Regions from separate parts of the Homo sapiens genome. Here all the other regions are linked to region 4. Evidence: promoter capture Hi-C in human tissues and cell types (Jung and others, 2019). All regions are on one chromosome and are shown on one strand. The core of a region is centred on a gene start or on the middle of the fragment in contact, and the rest is flanking DNA. Distances in the headings are between cores, read along the strand shown. Region 1 has its middle 12 kb from the start of TDRP. Region 2 overlaps ZNF596 (zinc finger protein 596). Region 3 has its middle 12 kb from the start of ZNF596. Region 4 holds the start of CLN8 (CLN8 transmembrane ER and ERGIC protein). Region 5 overlaps FBXO25 (F-box protein 25). Region 6 overlaps ERICH1 (glutamate rich 1). Region 7 overlaps TDRP (testis development related protein).

Region 1 (2,700 bases), core at 31-2,530, 1.2 Mb after region 4:
GGGATGATGCAGCCAAGAGACCACTGCGAGATGCAGGCCCTCAACCTTGGACTTCCCACCCTCCAGAAGTGTAAGAACTAAACCTCCCAGGTACTCTGTTATAGCAGCACAGCACTGACTAAGACAACCTTGTAGGAGAATGTCAAAACCTAATTTGGTTTATTTGATATGTTGAATTGCATGAAGAGTCATTGTTAAATAAGAAGGGTGTGTAACCTTCTTTAGGTTGTATTTATATGGGTAAATCGTCTTAATGTAACTCTTTCAGAAGTTGTGCAGAGCTATGGACAACTGTCAGTGCCTGCACTGGCCATGCTTTATCCAGTTCCATATTATCGGTCACAATTTCAATTGTTTTTATTAAATGTTGTATGTTATAAAAAAAGTCTTTTGTCAAATGCATTCTCATCAGATATCTAAGCATACCCATTTAAAATATTTTGTTATTCACAGATGGTTTTGTGTTACTCTGATTCTTCCCTGAAAGCATTTGCAATCAGGTGTAGGCCAGAATGATTTGTGATGGCATCGTTTGAAAACTTTGAGACCTGTATTAGTCAGGATTCTCTAGAGAGACAGAACCAATAGGAGAGAGATGGATAAGAGGGGATTTTTTTAGGGAAATTGCTCGTATAATTATGGAAGCTGAGAAGTCCCACAACAGGCTGTCCGTAAGCTGGAGACTGAGGGAAGCCAGTGGTATGGCTCAGCTCAAGTCTGAAGGTTCCAGAACTGGAGAAGCTGGTGGTGTAACTCTCAGTCTGAGGCCAAAGGCCAGAGAACCTGAAGTTTTGATGTCTCAGGACAGGAGAAGAAAGATGTCCCAGTTCCAGAAAAGAGACAGGGAAAGAATTTGCCTTACCTTTGCCTTTTTGCTCTATCTGGATCCTCAATGGCTTGGGTGATGACATCCACATTGGTGAGAGGAGGTCTCCCTTACTCAGTCCACTGATTCAAATGCCAGTCCCTTCCAGAAAAACCTCACCGACATACCCAGAAATAACACTTTACCAGCTATCTGGATATCCCTTAATCCAGTCAAGTTGACACCTAAAATTGACCATTATAAGACCATGCTGGGCTGAGTCAGAATTTTCAGAGCTCTTGTGGAGAAGGTGATAGTTCATGAAACTGCTATCTCAAGGTCACACAGAACAAGATTTAATCACATGGGACCGAATGAATAGATAAAAGATGATTATAGTTATTGTCTGGAACACTGATGATCCTTTAATGTTCTCTTTTCTGGACATAAGAAACCCCTTTCTCTTTTCTCTTAAGTTATTGTACTTTTATAAACAGAAATGAAACATTTATTCTTTCTCCCCTCCTGATTGCTCCAGGATTGGAAAACTCTTATTGAGTATTTTTATTTTCATGGCAACACAGTTATTTGCATGCATTCAATAAGACTATGTTTTACTTGTAACAGGATACATTGGATAGATTACCAAGGCTTTTACTGGAATGTCACATGTGAGAATCTGCGGTGACCAGACAGCTTTAGGGAAGTAAGGTTAACTCCAAAGAGCCAATGCTTACAGAGTCCACTTGGAAAAACCATCTTGGTACCTCAATTACAGGACTCCCCGCCTTGCAGGTGACTAAGGAAAGTCACTTCCTGGCAGATCCAGGAAACTTAAGATATCTTAGGGATGTCTGGTAGAGAAGAATTCGCCCAAATCTATAGATATTGCAGGCAAAGTCTGGGTCAACTCCCGAATTGAAGAATCTTCCTTGAAGATGTTTCCTTGAAGAAGCTTCAAGGAATCCCCCACAACAGATCACATCTGAGTAACCCATGCGCCCACTGCTGAATAAGCCACTCAGAAAGTTCACTGGAACACCCACTGCAATCACCAAAAACATTAAACTGCACACCAGGAAACTGTCAGATCACCCCTGCGGTCCTCACACCTCCACTGAATGATGCTTTGAGCTTAATTCTAGAAATCTTGACTAGCTGCCGTGTGGATTCAGAAGCTGGGTTTCTAACCATTAGTTATGGCTTTTCTTTTCTTTTTTTTTTTTTTTTTGGAGTGGGGGACAGAGTCTCACGTTGTTGCCCAGGCTGGAGTGCAATGGTGCGGTCTCGGCTCACTGCAACCTCCACCTCCCAGGTTCAAGTGATTCTCCTGCCTCAGCCTCCCGAGTAGCTGGTATTACAGGTGCCCACTACCACGCCCAGCTAATTTTTGTATTTTTAGTAGAGACAGGGTTTCACTATTTTGGTCAGGTTGGTCTTGAACTCCTCACCTCAGGTGATCCACCTGCCTTGGCCTCCCAAAGTGCTGGGATTACAGGCATGAGCCACTGTGCCCTGCTGGCTTTTCTTTTATTTTCACAGAAACATCCTTCATTAAATGCCTGACTGCTCACACCATCCTGCAAATGCCCTCTACCACAAAGTCTCACCAGATGAATCAGCTGGTCCTTAATAAACAAGAGGGAACACAACAAGTAATAGATTTACATTGTTCATAGGAAAGAAGGACATTTGACTGATGGCAACTCTCTCCTGGACCAAACTTTAGTCAGCCTCCTGAGCCCTCCCCTCCACCAGGCCTGACCCGGGGCTTCTGTCTCCACCTGCAGGGCACATCTTTAGCAAGAACTCTGCTAGGTTGGTTTATCCAGATCCCCCCACTCTCAATATCTGATCACGCTTAATATCAGTCAAATTCCTTATCCCCACCATCC
Region 2 (2,700 bases), core at 10-2,509, 1.5 Mb after region 4:
GATAGAATAATTACTTTAAAGAAATCAATACATTTATTTATGCATACCAAAGCAGTGAATTACCATAACTTTTCTGAGTTTGGGAGATTAAAGAGCAAGAAGGATGTGAAACTGTGGTCAGAAAGATGACTTTCTAGAGAGAGGACAAATCAATATAAGTGAAAAGGAAAGAAATGGCTGTCAGGTAATTGTGAGAGTTATGAAAGGATCAAAGCAGAAGTTGAAGTGATAGATGAGAAAGCTGTTCTAAGCACGTGTAGAATGAAAGAATGAATCAGTGAAAAATGAGTGAGTGAATGAATCCGTATATACATACATAATAAATATAAAGAGACTCACCAATAGAGACCAGATGACTGATGTTCTCCAACATCACATCTTGAAACAGCTTTCTCTGGGATGTGTCCAGCAGGGCCCACTCTTCTTGAGTGAAGTCTACAATGATATCCTCGAAGGTCATGGAATCCTAAAACATTATGGACATTCTACTGCAAACAGGGCTATCTCTGCCAATGTTCAGTGGAGCAAGATCAAAGTGACTGTACTAAGGAAGTGTGGGTGGTATGAACAGAAAACTCAAAACAGTGTTTGGGGTTCCTGTCACATTGCTTTAAATCTGAACTGGGAATCTGGCTTTCAGATTTACTCATACATAAAACTTCACATAGAGAAATATCACATGTGGTGTGGCATAATATAACCTGAAGATTTCCCAATAGACTTCTAAAGTATAACTTACAGATACTAATTATGAAATCTGTACTTGGAAATTTAGAACTAAAATTCTCCTCTCCACCACCTTCAAGAAAATCTATAGACTCACTACAAGGGAGGCAGCATCCATAATTTGTCACGTTTTAATCAAGACTATAGTTAGATATTCCACTATAGGACCTCAGTGTCCTCAGAATAAAATAAAGACCTGTTATGAGTTCAAAAAGGTCCAATGAGATAGTATGTAAAGTGGTTCCTATCTATCACTTTTTAGATACAAGCCACAAATACATTATTCATGAAATGACTGAGAACACTCAGTTGTGTGAACAACTTTCATATAGAACTTGGTATCAGCAGATGCAGCCTCTTATGTCTACACAACTCAGGTGTTCACTGTTAATGGATAAGGATGAATGGCTCAGCAGCACAAGCCAGGGACTCTAAGACTTCAGTACTGAAAGATGGTCTCATCCTGCCACTTTCCATGGTCTGAGGATTTCCTTTCTCAATTTTATGTGGGATCTTCAAACACCAGGTGATATAGTTTGGCTCTGTGTCCCCACCCAAATCTCATCTTGAATTGTAATCCCCACATGTTGGGGGAGGGGTCCGGTGGGAGGTGATTGAATCATGGGGGTGAACTTCCCCCTTGCTGTTCTCATGCTAGTAATATCTCAGAAGATCTGATGATTTAACAGTGTGTGGCATTTCCTGATTTGGTCTCTCTCCTGCTGCCTTATGAAGAAGGTGCTTGCTTCCCCTTCCACCATGATTGTAAGTTTCTGGAGGCCTCCCAGTCATGCTTCCTGTTAAGCCTGCAGAACTGTCAGTCAGTTAAACTTCTTTTCTTCATAAATTACCCACTATCAGGTAGTTTTTTATAGCGGTGTGAAAATGGACTAATGCACTAGGTACTATTCTATTTTGTTTCTTCATGTTGTCTCTAGATTTAGGGGAAAAAAAATCCTTTGATTGTCCTGGTCTCTCCACTTCAAAAATTTCCTCAGAGTTTTAAATTTACTCTGTTTCCTATACTCCATCACTTAATGCACAACCAAAATTAAAGAAACAACACTCCAGTTGCTTCCAGTTATCAAATTTGATCAGAGGTTAATTTGGGGACAAGGGTAATAAGAATTTTAATTTTGCTTTTTAAGTTTTTCAAAAGTTCACATTTATTCTCTCAAGACATTAAGATTTTGAGATAGGAAAAATAAATGAATAATTCCTCATTGTCTCCTCTGTCCTAACCCTATCTGCTTTCCCTTCAAGTTAAACAGCCCTCCCCTAACACCTGAAACACTAGACTAACTGAGCTTGCCTTTGTATGGGCTATAACCTGCTCTCACTTATTTTCACCACCTACCCACATATACTCTCAAGCCCACTCCTGCCAATAACATAGGTAATGAGTGAATTTATTTCCCCAACAAGGCCATGAGAGGCTCGTAATGAATGATTTCCCTGAGACTGGATGAGAGAAACAAAAACCTCTCACATCTTAATACACAGCCTTAGTAGAGGCTGGAATGCCTTAGTGTACTGTTGAAAGGACATTACTTCTTGATGACTCTTTGAGCCAATGTAAACATTCCGAAGCCCTGGGGAATCTTAATTGGAGCTTGGATCCTTGAGTGCACTTAGAACATCCATGTTAATAGGATGAATCTGCCCTTAGGCTGGTAACAGGGGTACAAATTTCAGTAGAAAGAAGAATTTCCCACTCACCGGTGATGGCATTGTACTAGCTCAGCCACCAAATGTATTCCTCTGGGTTTTCACTCACACCATCCAAGCACTAAGAAGACAAATCTGAGCAAAAACAAAAACAAAAACAAAAAAACCATGACACTCCAGTTTTGCTTCTAACATCTGCCCCAAAGCTATTAGCCCCAGTCCAACCAACAAGGACATGCAGTGGGTAGGGGGTGGGTTGGGTTGGTGGCTCTCCTCTCCCAGGGTCAGAAGAAATGACTATTGCTG
Region 3 (2,700 bases), core at 51-2,550, 1.5 Mb after region 4:
GGACTAGAGGTGTGTGGCAGCATGCCTGGCTGATTTTTGTATTTTTAGTAGAGACGGGGTTTTGCTATGTCTCTCTGGATGGTCTTGAACTCCTGCACTCAAGTGATCTGCCTGCTTCAGCCTTCCAAAGTGCTGGGATTATAGGCATGAGTCACCTTGCCTGTCGTGTTTTTAACTTTTTGTGGAAATACCAAACTATGTTACAAATAGGCTGTACCATTTTATATTCCACATACAGTATTTAATGGTTGTGATTTCTCTCTGACCTTGACAACACTTGTTACTTAATATTTGTGGATTATAGCCTTTCTAGTGTGTGTGAAGGAGTATGTGGTTGTGGTTTCAGTTTTGATGGCCATAATGATAATGATATTGATCGTCTTTTCATTTCCTCGTTTTCTATTTGCATGTCTTTTTGGCAAGGTGTGAGTTCAACTCTTCCGCCATTTGTAATTTGGTTGCTTTTGTTGTTGAGTTATACATATTCTGTATGTATTGTAGTTAATGGACAGTTGTTAGATATATAATGTGCTAGCAAATATTTTCTTCCTTTCTGTGGGTTGTCTTTTTGCTTTCTTTTTTTTTGAGACAGAGTCTTGCTGTGTTGCCCAAGCGGGAGTGCAGTGGCAGGATCTCAGCTCATTGTCACCTCCGCTTCCTGGGTTCAAGCGACTCTCCTGCCTCAGCCTCCTGAGTAGCTGGGATTACAGACGTGCACCATTACAGCAGGCTAATTTTGTATTTTTGTTTGAGATGGGGTTTGTTTATCTTGGTCAGGATGGTCTTGAACTCCCGTCCTCAGTTGATCCTCCTGCCTCGGCCTCCAGAAGAGCTGGGATTTCAGGCATGAGCCACCGTGCCTGGCCCTAATGTTTGTATTTTTAGTAGAGACAAGGTTTAGCCATGTTGGCCAGGCTGGTCTCCAACTCCTGACCTCAAGTGATCCATCTGCCTCAGCCTTCGAAATTGCTGGGATGATAGGCATGAGCCATCATACCATGTCTTTTTTTTTTTTTTTTTTTGAGACAGGGTCTTGCACTGTTGCCCAGGTTGGAGTGTAGTGGCACGATCTCAGCTTAATGTAACCTGCACGTTCTGGGCTCAAGCAGTCCTCCTGCTTCAGTCTCCCTAGTAGCTGCTACTTCAGCTGTGTGTCACCATTCACAGCTGGTTTTTGTATTATTAGTAGAGATGGTGTTTTGCTATGTCATCCTGGCTGGTCTTGAACTCCTGGACTCAGGTGATCCACCTGCCTTAGCCTCCCAAAGGGCTGGGATTGCTGGCGTGAACCACAGTGCGCAGGGTTTAGGGTTTACAGTTTAGGGTTTAGGGTTTAGGGTTAGGGTTAGGGGTTAGGGGTTAGGGGTTAGGGGTTAGGGTTAGGGGTTAGGGTTAGGGGTTAGGGTTAAGGGTTAGGGGTTAGGGGTAGGGGTAGGGGTAGGGTTAGGGGTTAGGGTAGTGTAAATAATTTCACATTATTACTAATAACAAATTATTACTTATATTACACTATTACTTAATGTAAAGGCTATTAAGACATGTTTGTCTTCAAAGAATGGCGTTGGTTTCTGTGGGCAGTTTCTCCTCATGGAAAGGTAGTGCGTTCCTGCTAAATCATGGACAAAATGGGCCTCCAGGAGCTACAGGCTGCAGAAGCAGCTTCTCGTCTATGTCCTTCACTGCCTGATACTGTTGTTGACCTTGAAACCTTGTTTTGGGCTAGTTTTATTAACAGAGCTAGTATTTCCATGAGGTTCTACTACATACCAGGTTCCAGAAAGCTAAATGCCTTTTGTTTGTTATTATTCACTAAATACAAATCACAACTCTCTTCTCATTACACACACAACAAAATTTAGCTGAGGGAGATTGAGTGACTTTCCCAGGGTCGCACAGCTACTAAGAGCAGAGTCATGTTTAGATTCATGTGGGAATACTGAACACAGAAATGAACCAACGGAAACATCCTACATTCCAAAAGCCTACTCAAGCCATTTGTTCTTATTTTAAGGAAAATCTATCATGAATGCCAACATACATCCCTAACAACCCAGTGCTGTTACCCTCCAAACATTTTATGTCTTGCAAAGTATTAGAACTTCATATGTGAAGCCATACCACTCAGAGGGAATGCAAAATACATAATGACATCTCCTTTAGGATGTCCTTAGAGAATTCAAGGAAAAGAAGTTAAATAATTTAAAAGTGCTTTCGGGTACAGCTATTTAGCACTAGACAGTAAGATTAGACATAGATTGTAAAGATAATAATAGGGTTAGGGATAGGATTAGGATCTGGGTCAGAGTCAGGGCCAGAAGTATGCTTAGAGGTGGGGTCATGGTCAGGGTCAAGATCAAAGTCAGGGTCAAAGTTAGGGTCAGAATTAGGGACCAGGGTAGGGATCAGGATTTAGATTCAGGGTCAAAGTCTTGGGACAGGGTTAGGGTTAGGATTAGAACCAGAGCTTTTTTCTCCTCAGGACCCACCCGAGGACGGGTCACCATGGCTTTGGAGCACCTGGTAGTGTGGCATGTCCACAGTGAAGACCAGAGTTTCGTTGTCCTTAAGACTGACCTGGGGAGACGTGGCTGCAGGCCATTGAGGAAGGTGAGGAAAAACTTCCTGTCTGCTCCCCGTGTGCTGAGGAGGGAGCTCTGCCATGGGCTTTACTTTCACATGTTACATTCCACAAGTCTTGTT
Region 4 (2,700 bases), core at 148-2,647:
CAGAAGACATTGTGTATTGAACATCTCTGAGGCCACCTAGAGAACCTGTGCTCTTTGTATGGAAACTGGATGCTCAGGAAGAACTTCCTTAACAACCACAGCCTCCATGACGGCCAATCTGAAAGTGAGGCACAGAAGTGTTCAAGCTCAGTGGGGAGCTGTGGCCATCTCATATTCCCTCAATCACTCACACTTCCTGCACCATTGCTCTTTCCTCTCACAACCTTCCTGAAAAGTTGTATGTAAATAAAAATCAAAATACGGGAGTGAGGTAAGCAGAAGCTGGATAGTTACAGATTTCACACAGAGGGTAAACTGAAACAGGAGTCAGAAGCAGCCGCCTCGCGCCAGTCTTTCAGAGAAGAGTCACTTACAGCAGAATCTACACAGGCTGGGGAGCCCCTGGCTCCCCTCCCTACTGTCCACACCCAACCCCAACCTAGAGCAGCTGGCTATAGGGCCCAGAGCCCAGGCGGGTCCCACCTCCTGCTGACCTGACCCAGCGCCCGCTCTCTCCCCCGCACACTTTGGTGACCTTACCCAGCGTCCCTCCCCGCTCCTACAGGTTCTGACTGACCCAGCGTCCCTCCGCCTCCCACACCATGTTGAGCTGCACCTTGTCCCCTTCCGCCCCAGCTAACTCGGTGACCAGTGGAGGCCACACCCACGTGACACCTGCTGTCCTTGACAGCAGCTCCGACGGCACCTCTGTGGCTCTGCAGGAGCCGCCTCCCCGCCTCGTGGGCACACAGGTGAGCTGACCGTACTTGCCCAGCCGGTCTGAGGGAAGCGAGGTCAGGGGCGACGGCGCCGCCTCCGCCTCCGCCTGTCCCCTCCCTCCGTCCGGCATCCGCGCCGCTCAAGGACTCCAAAGTCAGCGTCGCGGTGAGGAGCCCCCCACGCCCAACCCGCGCAGGCAGGACCCCGGGCTGCGGGGCTCGAAAGTCCCCCACAAGCTGCTGTCCGGGAACCGCACGGCCCGGGGTGCCGCACGCCCACCGGAAGGCAGGGCTGGGACCGCGGACGCCAGGAGCCACCCCGGCCCCTCACCCGGGCTCCCCCTCACGTGGGCTCCCGCGCGCCCATCTGGGTTCCCCCTCAGCTGAGTTCCCGGCCCCTCACCTGGGATCCCCGGTCCCCTCACCCGGGCTTCCCAGCCCCCTCGCCTGGGCTCCACGCGCGCTCACCTGGGCTGCCCCTCACCTGGGTTCCCGGCCCCTAACCCGGGCACCCCGCGCGCTCACCTGGGCTGCCCCTCACCTGGGTTCCCGGCCCTCACCCGGGCTCCCTGAGCGCTCACCTGGGCTGCCACTCAGCCGGGCTCCCTGCGCTTGGCGCCGCCCCGCCCCTGCAGGACTCCCGGCAGTCACTGACCTCATTGCCGCCCAGTCACGACTGGCCGGCCTCAAACACCGCCCGCGCACGCGCGTTCGCACGCGCGTGCGCACGCGTTCTGCCCCCCTGGGGGCGTCGCTACGAGAGGCCCCGCCTAGGCGCTACGACGGCGGCGGGCGCGGGAGGGGCGGGGCGGCGGGCGCGGGAGGGGCGCGGCGGGGGGCGGGGCGCGGCGCGGGGGGCGGGGCGCGGCGGGGGGCGGGGCGCGGCGGGGGGCGGGGCGCGGCGGGGGGCGGGGCGCGGCGGGGGGCGGGGCGCGGCGGGGGGCGGGGCGCGGCGGGGGGCGGGGCGCGGCGGGGGGCGGGGCGCGGCGGGGGGCGGGGCGCGGCGGGGGGCGGGGCGCGGCGGGGGGCGGGGCGCGGCGGGGGGCGGGGCGCGGCGGGGGGCGGGGCGCGGCGCGGCGGGCGCTGTGGGGCGGCGGGGTGGACGCGCTGAACCACGGCCGGCGGGAGGGGCGGGGCCGGGCTGAACCATGGCGGGCGGCGGCATGGGGGCGGTGGGGCTCCGCGGGCAGCCTGGTTGCGCTGCACCCGGACGGGGCCGAGGGGACCTGAAAGCTGCGGCAGAGCCTGACCGCGCCGTTCTCCAGAAGAGCCCCGGCCGCGGCTGAGTCGCGCTCCGGGTGTGGACGGAGCCGGAGCCTCCCCGGGGCTCGGTGAGGACACAGGGCCCAAGCCCCGGACCTTCAAGTCTTGACCGAGCGCATCCCCGGCCCTTCTGCGCCCACACCTGAGTTTTTGTCTGTAGGAGTTTCCGCAGTTTGCTAAGGTTGTTATTCGAGTTACTTATGTTTCTTCTCTCTAAGGTTGTTATTCGAGTTACTTATGTTTCTTCTGTCTAATGTGTTTTGTTCCCTCTTTAGAATCGACATCTAGAGGAGTACTCACCACTTAATTGATGATCAATACACGTTCCTTGAAAGAACCGATAGCATGCGATCGATACAGAGCATCTGCACTGGGATTGTCCGCCCCGCCTGTCAGGGAGGCCTCGGGGGCTAATGGAGCTGAGGGTATAGTCGGCCTTGGACCCTCGCTTTTTTCCTTTCCTGTACTATGAAGATAACTGCCTTATCTCCCCCTCAGGACTGTTTTGGGGATTAAATAGGACGTTTAAATTACCAACGCTCTTTGAAATAAACATTTCAAAATTATTATAACCCTTTAGTACATGTGGGAAAACGTTGACATTCATGTTCAAGTTTATTTTTCTGCTGGCTCATTTAGGTTTGTTGAAGCCTTGAGTCCCTAGGATTGTCTAAGAACATGGGTAAATGTGTGTGGAGGCCTCCCTGGAGGCCAGAGA
Region 5 (2,700 bases), core at 8-2,507, 1.4 Mb after region 4:
TATGAAAAAGTTAAATTATGTTAAAAAGTATATATAATTCATAAAAGTTTCTTTTCACTTAGAACATTTATTAATTTTAAAGATTAAAGTTCTTAACATTTAAATGTCTGCTCATTAATTAAACGTTGGCTCGACATTGGTGACAGTGACAATAACACAGTACTGTGTACTAAAGTGATCAAATGGGGTAAGTAAACGTGGTTTTACTGGCCTAATACTGCGTATCCCATGAAAGGTTTACCAGAGGTGACATTCTAGCTCATACCTGAAAAACAAGCAGGGGTCAGGGAGTGTGGAATAGGGAATATTATTCCAAACAAGTATTCTCTCTTTGCCAGAAGTTAGAAGCAACCGAAAATGAAATGTATTCATGTTCAGCAACTCTAAGTAGTTCAGTTTGGTTGAAGCTTAGAATAGATGAGAGAGAGTGGGCCAGAATTAAGGATGGAGAAGTCATTTAAGGCTGGATCAAGTTAGAGGAGTTGGATGCTATTCTGAGGGCAATGAGGGGCCAAAAAAGGGAAGTAAGCAGGTAAGTGATTCAATCAGATTTGTGGTTTACAAAGAACTCAGTATCACAGTGGGAGAAGGTATGGGGTGAGGGTCACCTGGAGGAAAGTAGTTGGGACTGGAGGCTTCTGAATGTTGACCTTTAAAAGGTGAGAGTATACAGTGGCAAAATAAACAGAAGAGCAGAGACTGCAGAAATATTTAGGAAACAGAGTCAAACAGTACTTGAAGACTGTCTGGAAACGTGAGGAGGAAATCAAGGAAGTTATCTAGATTTTGTTTTGTAGCCCCTGGATCTGGGATAAGACATACAGAAGGAACAGCAGGGTTTTATTAGGAAAGGAGAGATAAGGGATATTAATTTCAGCTTAGGACATGCCTGTTCAGTTTGAAATACCAGACTCCAGGTATAAAAATTATGACTTAAAAAATGATGCAACTTCGTGATTAACTTCATGACGCTCACAATTTGATAAGAGTGAGACTTCAAATGCTAGTTCTTCCCACTGACTTGATTTCTGCTCCTCTTGATCAGTGGTTTTCAACTACTGCTGTGCATTAACATCACAGGAAGCTTTTTAAACATTCAAGTGCTTAGTCCCATCTTAGTTCAGTTAAATATGAATATTTGGGGGTGAAGGCTAAGTTTAAGTAGTTTTTAAAGGTCCACAGGTGATTCTCATACACAGTGAGACTGTGCATGAGGCTAAAAACCACCTCAGATGCTCACACTGCTGATTCAAAATGTCACATCCCAGAAAGGCTCCCTGACTCCCCGTCCAAACAGCGCCCTTCTGCTGCCTCAACCCCCTCCCTACCAGTCTAAGCCATTATCTAGTGCCTTCATAGTTGTAAGGGCTGTCTGAAATGATTAGCGTGTTTATCATCTGTTTTCCTCCAAGAAAATGCAATGTCTTGTTCAGGTCCGTATTCCATTACCTTGAACAATGCCAGGAAAACAACAGGAGCTCTATAAGTATTTATTTACTGAATGAATAAATATATACATCCATGGTTCAGAAGAGAGTTAGACTAGAGAGAAAGAGGAAAATCATGAGCATTCAGACACTAATCAAAACCACACAAATAATATCACAGAATATGTCGAGAGGGAAATCAAGAGAGCCAAGAAAAAAACCCTAAGAAACATCACCATTTAAGGGATCGGCAGATATAAGCCAAGAAGAAAAACTGAAAAGGAAGAGCCAAAAAGGTAGAGGGAGAAGTAGGAAGTCAGGAGAAAAATGTATTTCAGGAAAGAAATGGTCGACAGAGACGAAAATGTTATAAAAATGCCAAGCATGGCAAGAGTTGAAAATATACGTTGAATTTAGCTACAGAAAGGTAGCTGAATTACTCAAGCAAAAGTGGTTTCTGTAATGTATTACTTTAATTTCACGTCCCGAACAGACTTGAGTATTTTATAATATAGAATATTTATATCGTAGAGAAAAATGTAGAATATTTACATCATGGAGAATAAATGAGAGATGAACATCTCCAAACACCACCTCCCAACTATATTTAGTATAATTAACAAAAAACAAGCTATTAAATGGGCACTTATACAATCCTAGAAGATACAGAAAAAAAAGGAAGGAAATTACATAGACTTCAACAATATTCCTGGATCAACCACAAATGCTTAATTCTTGACTGGTGTAGGAAATGATGAAGTAATTATTCTTTACACGAAGAAAATCTCAAACCTTGCTAAACTGACTTATAGTCAGAACATGTCTTTTTCAGTCACATAATGATTAATTTAAATTCTTGCTTTAGAAAATACTTTATTCCTTAAATTTCAGCACAATTTTGATAAACTTTGTCTCACAGAACTGCTTCACAACTACTGAACATCCTAAAATGCAAAACTCAATGCCCATGTTCAGTCGACCTAAAGTTATCTAAAACTGTCTCTAATAGCATACAGCTGATTTTATGATTTTCAAGAACATTCCCACCAAAGGCAGCAAAGACCATGAAGTAGCAGATGACTGAAGTGGCACCTTGAGTCTCATAAAACACATTCAACAGAAAATGGCTGCTAGGAACATCTCTGATAATTATCAAATTATCTCTCAATATCAACTTGAAACTGTGGATTCAGAAATCTATATTAAAAAAAAAAATCAAGTGGATAATCCTGAAAAATATTGCTAACAGACCAAATACAGGATTACTTCAACG
Region 6 (2,700 bases), core at 48-2,547, 1.1 Mb after region 4:
GATGATTTGGGGACAATTCACATTGTCCGTGATGCTGCACGCAGCGTGGTTGGCACCTGCACTTCCTCTCGGCTGCTTTTCCTCTGTCATTTTTGGGCCAGATTGCCCTTGTCTTGAGAGCTGGGCTGTGCATTGAAGGTAGGTTTGCTGTGTTTTATCTGGCATTGTTAAGTATTTTTCAGGAGAGTTTTTCCTCTTATCTGCCATCTGGAAGCCTCTGATAAAGGAATATTTTCCCAAGACTCTGAATAGCTGATTAAGAGTCTGTGAAAGACAGCAAACCACATTTGCATGGAGGAGGCCATCCGATGGGGCAGGACCTCCCACCGCTGAGCACCTTTTCCGAGCAGCCACAAGGCAGTGGGACATTTTACTGCACATAAAACAGCTGTGATAAGTTGTAGCTTGGAAGCTGGATAGTGAGGACTGACTGGAGCTGTCAGGCGTGTGCATGTGTGCGGGTCTGTGCGCCTGTGCGGGCCTGTGCGCGTGTGCGGGCCTGTGCGCCTGTGCGGGCCTGTGCGCCTGTGCGGGCCTGTGCGCGTGTGCGGGCCTGTGCGCCTGTGCGGGTCTGTGCGCCTGTGCGGGTCTGTGGCCTGTGAGGGCCTGTGCGCGTCTGCGGGCCTGTGCGCCTGTGCGGGCCTGTGCGCGTGTGCGGGCCTGTGCGCCTGTGCGGGCCTGTGCGCGTGTGCGGATCTGTGCGCGTGTGCGGGCCTGTGCGCGTGTGCGGGTCTGTGCGCGTGTCCGGGCCTGTGCGGGTCTGTGCGCCTGTGCGGGCCTGTGCGCGTGTGCGGGCCTGTGCGGGCCTGTGCGCGTGTGCGGGTGTGTGCGCCTGTGCCGGCCTGTGCGCGTGTGCGGGCCTGTGCGGGCCTGTGCGCGTGTGCGGGTCTGTGCGCCTGTGCGGGTCTGTGCGCCTGTGAGGGTGTGTGCGCGTGTGCGGGTCTGTGCGCGTGTGCGGGTCTGTGCGCCTGTGAGGGCCTGTGCGCGTGTGCGGGCCTGTGCGCCTGTGAGGGTCTGTGCGCGTGTGCGGGTCTGTGCGCCTGTGAGGGTCTGTGCGCGTGTGCGGGTCTGTGCGCGTGTGCGGGCCTGTGCGCGTGTGCGGGTCTGTGCGCCTGTGCGGGCCTGTGCGCCTGTGCGGGTCTGTGCGCGTGTGCGGATCTGTGCGCCTGTGAGGGTCTGTGCGCGTGTGCGGGTCTGTGCGCCTGTGCGGGTCTGTGCGCTTGTGCGGATCTGTGCGCGTGTGCGGGTCTGTGCGCGTGTGCGGGTCTGTGCGGCTGTGTGAGTGTGCACGTGTGCGTGTCTGTGCGCCTGTGAGTCTGTGCACGTGTGCGGGTCTGTGCGCCTGTGTGAGTCTGTGCACGTGTGCGGGTCTGTACGTGCTCCTGTGTGTGCTTTCACGCGCGTGTTGAGATCTTGGATGCTGGAGCTTGTTTAAATATGATGAAAATAGGAGGGAAATGAAGCCGTCCTCCTTCTCTGGAACGCCTGCTTTTGTGAGTCGCCGTCACCCTGAGGGGTGGGGAGGGTCTGGGTGCGGCGCCCAGCGGAGATACCAGGCAGCATTGTTGTGCTCGTGCTTGTCCTTGGATTTTACACTGATTTCACTTGAAGTTGCTGTGATTGTGGCCTCGCATTGATACAGATCTAATTACTTGAAATGTCGTGGTACCAGGAGAGAAGAAGGCCGCTGGGACAGCAATCGGGGGTGGCGTCCACTCTTCTGTCCAGCCCTCTGGTGGGGCTGGCGCTCCCCCCGGTAGCATTTTGCCAGTTATCCATGCAGGTGGGAAATACCTTTTTCTTTCGTTCCTGATGATAACCAGCCTTACACATCTCGTATCAGGGTAACTGTGACCATATTGTAGAATGGAGCCAAATGCACGGGGAGTTTCTGAGCTGATATTTAGTGGGTTTGGGGGGTTTTTTGAGACAGGGTTTCCCTGTGTTGCGCAGGCCGTAGTGCGGTGCTCTTTTCAGGCATGGTCCTGGCACCCACGGCCCTGAGCTCCTGGGCTCCACTGAGCCTCCCGCCACAGCTGAGCCGAGACTTTGGAGCACGCACAGCAGTTGTGCTTGGCACTTGCAGTTCCCCTGCAGGATGATCCTGGAGAGCCTCCCTGGTTAAAAAAAAAAAAAAAAAACTCACAGAGACAACCATAGGATGCTACTTCGTGGCATCCTACCTGAGGAGGACGGAGGTGCACCGTGAGCCCTGGTTTTGCCTCCAGCACTTTTTCCAGCAAAATGGACAAAAGACTTTTCAGGCCAAACACAGTGACTCACGCCTGTAATCCTAGCACTTTAGGAGGCCAAGGAGGGAGGATTGCTTGAGCCCAGGAGCTCTAGACAGTGAGCCATGATCGCATCATTGCATTCTAACCTGTGCAACAGAGTGAGACCCTGTCTCTAAAAGAATTTTTTAAAAATGTTTTTCAGAAGTGTGTAATTTTTCAATGACCACCTTGTCATTGAGAATTGAGGAAAATGAATACTCATAAATTGCTGGCAGGAATGTAATTCAGGGCCGGGCACGGTGGCTCTCACCTGTAATCCCAGCACTTTAGGAGGCCGAGGCAGGAGGATCACTTGAGGTCAGGAGTTCAAGACGACCTTGGGTAACATGGTGAAACCCTGTCTCTACTAAAAGTACAAAAATTATCTGGGCGTGGTGGTGCACACCTGTAGTCCCAGGTACTCGGG
Region 7 (2,700 bases), core at 98-2,597, 1.2 Mb after region 4:
ACACAAACATTCAGTCCACAGCAATTGCATTTCCTTACGTGGATATACAGGATTTTAAATACAAATTGAAAAAACGAGTCCCCTATTGATGCCTTCAGGGGGATATTTCTAGTCTCTTTCTATTATAGGCCTGCAGGATAGTTATTTCACAAGTCTAGAAGTGGAGCTGTCCGAGGATGCGTGCATTTGTGGTTTTGATGGATGTCTCCAAATTGCCCTCTGAAAGAGGCGGTCCTGGTTTACGTTCCAACCAGCAGCATATGCGAATGTTTCTCACCAGTGTGGTGAGATGCGCATGTCTTCAAGATTTTAGATCTGATGGGGGGAAAAGTTGCATCTTAATGTGATTTTAATTTGCCTTTCTCTTATTTATATTCAATAGCTTCTTAGATGTTCACAAGCCTAATGAAGACTTCTAAAGACTTCTCCCCCAGTCCCACTACCATGTCATTGAATGTATGGAACTGTAGTCAAGATAACTGTATTTGCATGAAAATACAGTTGGGTAGTTTAGATTTGGACTTGGTTTCTGGTGAGCCTTGATTGAATCTACACCCTATCTCTGCCTTTTGTTGAGCCACTTGACCTAGCCAAGTATCAGTTTTGTTTTTTAGCTGTAAAATTGGGATAAATAGAGCTATCACTAGTGTTTATTGAGGCGGTGCTTAGCCCCTGTTCATAAATTCTTGATATGGGTTGGTGCCACCATCTGACACATGGGCACAAAGGAGGAGGGACCGGGAAGGCTACACAGCTGCCAACAGACTCTATCTGACCCAGCTTTAGTCAGGACCTCGCTTTTGTCCTTCCCAGCCTCAGTAGAAGTCCCTGCAGTGCGAACCTCCTCACCCTTGATGTCTGATTGAGTTCCTCATCCCCTGGCCTTGATGTCTGAGTTCTTGGCCCACCTGTAGCAAGAATCTCCCACCCTTGATGAAGTCTTCTCTTGGTCACTTCCCATCCCGAGACTCCTTTGCGGTTGGCTGCAAATCACAGCTGTCTTTGCCTGTTGGGAGCTGAACCAAACCTCTCCTCTATTGAGATAGCCTTGATTGGAGTCTCCCTGTTTTAACAATGCCGCAGAAGCTTTTTCTTTATCAGTGGTGAAAGGTTGCAGACATTTTGTTTTAAAAACAAAACCTCTTCCCAACCAAGAAAACTTAACAATATAGGAAGAGAAATAAAATAATTTTATTATGAAGGAGCACTTAGCTAGGATGGGACACATCATAGGCACAGATTGTGAAGATGAAAGAAGTCTTACTCTTTTATATAACCAAGTAGGTAAAACCCATTGTATTCATGTTTTCAAGATAAAATTGCTAAATTTATCCTATCTTTACAGGGAGGCAGGATTTGCAACTTGGAGTCAGGTGACAGCTGAAGTTAGGCTCGTCTCCTCTGGGAAATGTCCTCTTTTGTTTCAGGTAGTTGTGAGACTGATAGGAGGCTAATTTAGCATTCGACTTTAAAGGAGTCATAATTCTCAAACCCCGGTGAATTCTTACTTGTTTACAAGACCAATGAAGACTTCTAAAAACCTCGTAGTCCCCATGGCCAGTGTGTGCAAACCAGGCTGTCCTGCCCCTGGGATGAAATGAAAAAGTGAAAAGTAAATGAAGTCATCCATATCCAGCCCTTAATATTTTTCTCTGGCAAACAGACACACTAAAAGAAGAAAAAGGAGGTCTTGTTATTAAATAATAGAAATAGTTAATGCTTTTTACTGACTTAGGATTTGGTTTTCTGGTATCCCTTGCTCTGGAATGTGCTCATTGCCCGAGTTGATGTGGACAGTGGGGTGTGGTGCAGGCAGGAGGGTCCTGGGACAGCTGCATTCAGGCACTTCTCACTTGTGCGACAGGCATTCGGACATCACAAGCCTCTCTGGAGGACCATTTCATCCTAGGCTGAATGCTCAGTGCTGTATCCCCAAGACCAGGCAGGGAGCCAGCCCAGGAAGGGAGCCAGGCCCACGTGGGGCTCAGCAGTGCCCCTGAGAGGAGTGTACCTGGTGTGGGGTTTCCACATTACGGCACCTGATGGGAGCTGCAGAATTGAGTCAGGGTGGGAACTCTGGAGTCTGGAGCGGGGAGCAGGAGTTCTCCAGCCTTAGGGGAGCTGATCTTGATGCAGATTCTTTCTTGGGTAAACAGATATTTGTAGGGTTAGTCTCATTGGACTCTCATATGAGCTGAGTCAGATACTCAGTCAGCAGAAGCACTTGAGTCAAGTCTCTGTGGGTGATTACTTGAGAGGAAGCAGGAAGGGTCAGTTACGATATTATAGAAGGGAAGGAGGATCCTGGGCGCTGCTTATTCGCTCCGGATTCAGCTGGCTCCTCTTAACTGATGCTTGGGGAGCTCCTGCCTGTGGAACAGAGTGGTGCTTTCCTCCACTGAAACATAGCAAAACATTTTCTGGTGGCCACATTAAAAAGTTTTAATTCAATATTTAAAATTTGATATATTCAGCATATTACATCAATAGGTAATCAATATAAAATTTGTTAGAGATCCTTTACATTTTTTTCATACTCTCATATCTATGTGTATTTTACATTTACCAGCACAAGATATTAATATGTATCAATTTGTATGCCAAGTTTTCTTCAGAAATACTTGATCAGTATTTAGAGTTTATAAAATGTACAGGTGAAAAAACAGGTTGCTTTATCTGAGTTCTTCCAAACATACTTAA

Evidence for each region. The method cuts DNA at HindIII sites, captures the fragments that hold promoters and counts their contacts. A contact is called where the count stands out against the background at its distance.
Region 1: a contact is called between a fragment that was not itself captured here and the fragment with the promoter of CLN8 in region 4, in 1 of the 25 tissues and cell types used here (dorsolateral prefrontal cortex).
Region 2: a fragment that was not itself captured here is called in contact with the fragment with the promoter of CLN8 in region 4 in 1 of the 25 tissues and cell types used here (lymphoblastoid cells).
Region 3: a contact is called between a fragment that was not itself captured here and the fragment with the promoter of CLN8 in region 4, in 1 of the 25 tissues and cell types used here (lymphoblastoid cells).
Region 5: a fragment that was not itself captured here is called in contact with the fragment with the promoter of CLN8 in region 4 in 1 of the 25 tissues and cell types used here (dorsolateral prefrontal cortex).
Region 6: a contact is called between a fragment that was not itself captured here and the fragment with the promoter of CLN8 in region 4, in 1 of the 25 tissues and cell types used here (lymphoblastoid cells).
Region 7: a contact is called between a fragment that was not itself captured here and the fragment with the promoter of CLN8 in region 4, in 1 of the 25 tissues and cell types used here (dorsolateral prefrontal cortex).

Annotation. Positions count from the first base shown.
Region 1 is chr8:555,632-558,331 of GRCh38, reverse strand. No RefSeq gene overlaps it. Among named protein-coding and RNA genes, the nearest start is that of TDRP, 12 kb to the right of the region's middle. The HindIII fragment of the contact is 3,417 bases long and covers 1-2,700 here.
Region 2 is chr8:240,653-243,352 of GRCh38, reverse strand. It overlaps ZNF596 (zinc finger protein 596), which reads right to left. Exons shown (of 6, transcript NM_001042416.3): 2 at 2,446-2,529; 3 at 340-466. The coding sequence starts at 2,457. Among named protein-coding and RNA genes, the nearest start is that of ZNF596, 9.5 kb to the right of the region's middle. The HindIII fragment of the contact is 4,314 bases long and covers 1-2,700 here.
Region 3 is chr8:219,197-221,896 of GRCh38, reverse strand. It overlaps the pseudogene RPL23AP53. Among named protein-coding and RNA genes, the nearest start is that of ZNF596, 12 kb to the left of the region's middle. The HindIII fragment of the contact is 5,624 bases long and covers 1-2,700 here.
Region 4 is chr8:1,762,486-1,765,185 of GRCh38, reverse strand. It overlaps CLN8 (CLN8 transmembrane ER and ERGIC protein), which reads right to left and starts at 1,397. Exons shown (of 3, transcript NM_018941.4): 1 at 1,301-1,397. CLN8-AS1 (CLN8 antisense RNA 1) reads left to right here and starts at 602. Exons shown (of 2, transcript NR_134303.1): 1 at 602-752; 2 at 2,258-2,700. The HindIII fragment of the contact is 16,643 bases long and covers 1-2,700 here.
Region 5 is chr8:410,372-413,071 of GRCh38, reverse strand. The region is part of intron 1 of FBXO25 (F-box protein 25); the gene reads right to left. Among named protein-coding and RNA genes, the nearest start is that of FBXO25, 4.8 kb to the right of the region's middle. The HindIII fragment of the contact is 3,294 bases long and covers 1-2,700 here.
Region 6 is chr8:698,341-701,040 of GRCh38, reverse strand. All of the region lies in intron 2 of ERICH1 (glutamate rich 1), which reads left to right. Among named protein-coding and RNA genes, the nearest start is that of ERICH1, 32 kb to the left of the region's middle. RefSeq lists an enhancer at 2,543-2,700. The HindIII fragment of the contact is 7,633 bases long and covers 1-2,700 here.
Region 7 is chr8:536,448-539,147 of GRCh38, reverse strand. All of the region lies in intron 1 of TDRP (testis development related protein), which reads left to right. Among named protein-coding and RNA genes, the nearest start is that of TDRP, 7.0 kb to the left of the region's middle. RefSeq lists enhancers at 1,424-1,933, 1,934-2,444. The HindIII fragment of the contact is 5,767 bases long and covers 1-2,700 here.